Linked DNA regions of Homo sapiens: region 1 is linked to region 2. The links are contacts of gene promoters, found by promoter capture Hi-C in blood cells and fetal thymus (Javierre and others, 2016). All regions are on one chromosome and are shown on one strand. The core of a region is centred on a gene start or on the middle of the fragment in contact, and the rest is flanking DNA. Distances in the headings are between cores, read along the strand shown.

Region 1 (2,700 bases), core at 22-2,521, about 13 Mb before region 2:
AAGAGAGAGAGTGGACAGCTGAAGCCTCAAAGGCCTTGAGCAAGAGAAAAGGGATAAGATCCAACACACGAGTGGAGGTATGAGGCAATAAGAGGAGAGACACCCTTCCTCCTCTGTAGCAGAAGGAAATAGATGGTGCACATGGAGATTAGTTGGTGTTGGCAAAAAGAAGAGGAAGTATAGTCAGCCCTCCATATCCACGAGTTCCGCATTCATAGAATCAACCAACTGTGGATGAAAAATTCTCAGAAAAATAATACAACAGTAAAAAGTAATCGAAATTTTTTAAAAATATAGCATAACGACTATTTACATAGCACTTACATTCTATCAAGTATTATAAGTAATCTAGAGATGATTTAAAGTACATAGGAGAATGTATGTAAGTAATATGCAAATACCACATACATCATTTTATATCAGGGACTTGAGCATCTGTGGATTTTGGTATCCTTGGGGGTCTTGGAAGCAATACCCCATGGATAAGGAGAGACAACTATGTATGTCCAAGGGCCTCCATCAATTCCGTGAAGCATGAGCAAGGGCGGAGGAACGGGAGCAGGGATTTGCCAGGGAAAAGTAGTAGTCTCCAGAAACTGAAGCCTAGAGAGAGATGTGGCCAGACCGCTGGGGCTCATGATCAAGAATGAAAGTGAAACCAGTCAGTTCCCTTGTGAGATTCTTTCCCACTAATCAGAAGCAGAAAATGTCATCAGGACTGGAGTTGGGCCAGGCAAGTTCAGAGAAAGGAGAAAAAAAAAGCTGAGATAACAGCAAGGGACGGATTATAATGATGGGCCATGGAATCTGGGCTAGCTGAGGTGACAAAGGCAGGCAGGAGGACAGAGGGTGCTGGGTATTCAGGAAGCAGTGGAAGCCTCAAAGAGGCGGAAGTAGTATGGGGCACAGGGTTGGGGGCAGGGGTGCATGAATAAGTGTGCCAAAGGCCAGCAGGATGTTAGACACTGAGACTTTCTGTGCCAAGGTCCAGGGTGTGGGCATGCAAGCCGGAGGCTGAGGGGGAGTGAAGCAGAGGATGCTGGAATCAGGAGCCCAGAAACTGAGAGGATGGGGTTGGACTAGAAGGTCTGTAGGTGACAGCAACCAAGAGGAGCAAAGAGTGGTATAAGGAGGTAGTACAGGCTACAAGAGGATTCCAATGGTGTGAAAGCAGCAACGCAGACCAAACAGATGAGGGACAGGCATTGTAAAGGGCAGAGTTTTCTTTCTTTCTGTTTTTTTTCTCTTTTCTAGGTAGAAGTAGAAGTCAGCAACTCTATGGCTGCAGTGGAAAAAAATGGGGAAGATGGTGTAGGTGTGGTGGGTTTACCGGCTCGTGATACCCAAAAGTCTGGGGACCCCTGATACAGTTCAATTTTTTAAGACAGGGTCTTGCTCTGTCACCCAGGCTGGAATGCAGTGGTGTGATCACGGCTCACTGCAGCCTCGACTTCCCAGGCTCCAGTGATCCTCTCACCTCAGCCTCCTGAGTAGCTGGGACTACAGGCATGCACCACCACACCCAGCTAATTTTTGTATTTTTTTGTAGAGACGGGGTTTTGCCATGTTATCCAGGGTGGTCTTGAACTCCTGAGCTCAAGCCATCCTCCCACCTTGGCCTCCCAAAGTGCTGGGATTACAGGCATGAGCCACCGCGCCCGGCCCCAATTCCTTTCATTTTTTTTTTTTTTTTTTTTTTTTTTTTTTTTTTTTTTTTTTTTTGAGACGGAGTCTCGTTCTGTCGCCCAGGCGGGAGTGCAGTGGCGCGATCTCCGCTCACTGCAAGCTCCGCCTCCCGGGTTCACGCCATTCTCCTGCCTCAGCCTCCCGAGTAGCTGGGACTACAGGCGCCCGCCACTGCGCCCGGCTAATTTTTTTGTATTTTTAGTAGAGACGGGGTTTCACCGTGGTCTCGATCTCCTGACCTCATGATCCGCCCGCCTCGGCCTCCCAAAGTGCTGGGATTACAGGCGTGAGCCACTGCGCCCGGCCGTCCTTTCATTTTTGAGATTGGGGAGCACAAGCTGGCCCAGTGTCACACCACGGCAGCTGATCCAGGACTCAGATCATCTGCTTCCCAGGCACTGCTCCTTTCCAGTGCCCACCCTGTGCCTGCTGATAACTACTGGCATGTAGACTGACTGCTAAAGTCAATTTGTGTTAGGAAGCCACTTCTGGCTGTCCCTCTCCGTCCCTTACTGGGCAAAAAAATTTCCTACTCGATCTACTTAGTAAGTGACATTGCCAAGATCTGAAGACAGATCCGGCTGCCTACCCCATTCCCAGCTACCCAAAGTGCCTTTAACTGGGCACTTAAGGTGCTATTTTAGCCCTAACTTCCCTTGGCTTACTCTGTCATCCTTACGGCATCCTATAGCCAAAAAAGAGCTGATGAGCTGTTCAGCGAGCCTTACCCTCAAACAGGCCACACAAGAGTCTCCCTCCCTCCCTGCCTGTGCTCATGATGCTCGCTCTGCATCTTGCCCCAGTATCTCTTGTAGAACTCTTTCCTGTAACTTTCCAAGCAGGGGTAACAAACTCAAATGCCCTCAGGAAGCAGACGGGTAGAAGAAAGCTTCTACTTCACTAAGCTGGGTTGGGTCCCGCATACCACCCCTGAACCGCCTAGACCCTTGATCAATCTCTCTCTCTGCATCTGTTTATGAGGCCCCGGCGACCACAAGACCAGATAGCCACCCC
Region 2 (2,700 bases), core at 76-2,575:
TAAACATCCTACAATGCACAGAGCACATCCCACAGCAAAGGATTATCTCGCTGGAAATGTCAATAGTGCCACTGTTGAGACACTCAGTCTCCAGGAAAGGTACTCAGTATGTGCTACTTCAGCAAGGGCAGCCTCTTAGGCTAGGATATCATTCAGCTAGAACATCTCTGGGGTGGAAGAATACAGCAGGATTCCAAATGGACATCTGAGGTGAGAGGAATCCACGGTGTATCGTTTAGAGTTGGGAAGACACAAAATAGAGGCTTTACCTGACCACCCTTTCTAAAGACACCACCTAAGTCACTTTATCACATCCACCTGTCTCATTTCCTGTATAGCACTTATGACAGCCTAAAACCATCTTATTTTCTCCTTATCTTCTTTCCCCTCTGGAATATAAGTTCCCTGTGAGCATGGAGTTGGTTTATTCTATTCTCCGCTGTTTCCACAACTTGCAACTGAATAACTCCTGATAAACAATAAGCATTCAACAAATTTGGTAAATTAGTTAATTTCGGCTTTTGACGGTTTCGGTGGTAGGAAAAGGGCGAGTTCGAGGCAACTACCTCTGACATAGCGGTGGGGGGTGGGGATCGACACCTCAAGCATTCTAAAGACTGGAGCGCTGGGTCTGAAATTCAAAAGTGCCGCCTCCAGAGAAGAGTAGAAAGGAGTTGGAGTGTACCAATGCGAGGCGAGAGAGGACGCTGGGCTGAAACAGAAGTGCACCGTTTGGGACCGAAGGCCACGGGAGAGCTACCAGCGTCCCCACATTCTCCGGAGGGGGTCAAGTAAGGCTGGGAAGCCGGCTCCGGCCGGTCCGGCGGGGAGCCGCGCGGCGGAGGACTGAGCTGGCGGGAAGCTGGTTCCAGACGCGACTCCTTTGGCGGGAGGGGGAAGTAGGCGGGGTAACTGGCAGCTCGGCCTGTACCACTGGGCCGGGGCGGGGGCCGCGCAGGAAGCGGCAAGTGACACCTGGAAGGGGTTCGAGTTAGAGCACCCGCGCGGGGAGAGTGGGTTCGAGCAGAACCCCCTCTGGACGGGCAAGGAACCCGTAAGGGTCCGCGACGTTTCAGGTTACATGGGCTGGGTTGTACTACTCCGGCACCGGATAAGGGGTCCAGGCCGGGACGTGCGCAGGGCCGCGGCCAGGTTTATCTCACCAGAGCCATTGGGTCCAATGATGGCGGTGAACCTCTGAAATGGTCCGATAATCTGTCGACCCTTGTACGACTTAAAGTTCTCAATCTCAATCAGTTTCAGGAACCCCATGACGGCCGCGGCGCCGGCGGCAGTAGGACAGGCCGCGCCGTACGCCCGAGAACTGAGGTAGCCCGCGCGGGAAACGCCGCAGTGCAAGCCGGGCGACCGGCAAATGTCGCGAGAATACGTCCAGGCCTAACGGGATTTTCGCCTTCCGGCAGGAGTGGGACCAGGGGCGGGGACTGATGTTGCGTATACGAGGAGCGAGCTGACGACTGGCGTGGTGCCTCCGCCCCCCTTTCTTGTTGCATGGCAACAACAAACACTTGCTCCTGCGGACCAGATCCCCGGAGGAGTTGTTGCTGGGCGGAGTCAGAGCAGTTCTTGAGGTTCAAGGAGGCGGGGGAGACCTGAGCTCACGCTTGCTGAGACAGAAGTCACAGCAGGATTATGCCCCTCAGGGCAAGAGGAAGGTGGGAGCTCGGCTGTGGCTTTAGCCTGGCCAGCTTTCAAGGCTAGGACAAGGACAGGGTCGGGAATTGGAAGGACCCGGGGGGAGCGGAGAGCTGGACGGGAAGGAGGGGCCAACGGGAGGATTCAGTGTTAGGTGAGCTCAGACTTTGCTAATGGTGGGGTGGGATTGGTGGCGGGACGGGTTGCGAAGGCGGACGGGTTGTGAATGGGACTGGGGCTACTCCCAGGCAACAGGGATACAGGCTGGGGAAGGCTACGGCCTGAGATACTACCCCTATCCCCTGCCTCCCTCCTGTTGTACCAAGCAGAGTTCAGAAACTGCCGCCGTAACCCAAGAACAAAGTTGCATGCAGAGCCAACCTAAGAGCTTCAAAATCGGGATTCCTTACTGAGAAAGGTATTTTGTGTGAACCCCCAGGAGTCAGGGTCCCTAAGCCAGCGCTCTCCACCTCCACCTACCTCTGCCTCCATGCCTCTCCCCCATCCCATTCCCACAGCTCTATACCACAATGCCACCTTACCTCTCTTCCCTCTCTGCTCTCTATCATTAATAAGGCAGGGGCCTTAGCAATCCAAGAAGCTTAAAATGTCAGCTGAATCTTCCCCTTCAGTGACCTTATACTGTAATGGCAGGTGAAACCAGTAGGTAAGTTGGTGCCATTCTCAGACTTAAACATGGAAAGGATCTGGTGGTTGCCATAATTATTCCTTTAACTATTTATTAAATTATGTCCGAAGGCTAGAAAGAGTCCTAAAGACTTAGGACAAGTCCAGGAAAGTGAGGAAGTGGCTGGGCATGGTGGCTGACAACTGTAATCCCATCGTGAGGGAGGCAGGCCAAGGCAGGAGGATCACTTGAGACCAGCAGTTCAAGACCAGCCTGGGCAACATAGTGAGACCCTATCTCTACTAAAAATTAAAAAATTAGCTGGGTGTGGCAGCTCTCACCTCTGGTCTACCCAGGATGCCGAAGCAGGAGGATCACTTGAGCCTGGGAGGTTGAGGCTGTAGTGAGTGGTGTCC

The links. The method cuts DNA at HindIII sites, captures the fragments that hold promoters and counts their contacts. A CHiCAGO score of 5 or more calls a contact.
Region 1: a contact is called between a fragment that was not itself captured here and the fragment with the promoter of SMC1A in region 2, in 1 of 17 cell types (fetal thymus). The highest score is 11.3, in fetal thymus.

The regions. Positions count from the first base shown.
Region 1 is chrX:40,644,254-40,646,953 of GRCh38, forward strand. All of the region lies in intron 2 of CXorf38 (chromosome X open reading frame 38), which reads right to left. Among named protein-coding and RNA genes, the nearest start is that of CXorf38, 2.0 kb to the right of the region's middle. RefSeq lists a silencer at 1-278 and enhancers at 572-801, 2,489-2,688. The HindIII fragment of the contact is 2,604 bases long and covers 1-2,573 here.
Region 2 is chrX:53,421,329-53,424,028 of GRCh38, forward strand. It overlaps SMC1A (structural maintenance of chromosomes 1A), which reads right to left and starts at 1,326. Exons shown (of 25, transcript NM_006306.4): 1 at 1,164-1,326. The coding sequence starts at 1,272. It overlaps RIBC1 (RIB43A domain with coiled-coils 1), which reads left to right and starts at 1,545. Exons shown (of 8, transcript NM_001031745.5): 1 at 1,545-1,676; 2 at 1,986-2,074. RefSeq lists enhancers at 483-1,457, 574-753, 874-923, 1,114-1,293, 1,458-2,429 and 1 more. The HindIII fragment of the contact is 3,638 bases long and covers 1-2,255 here.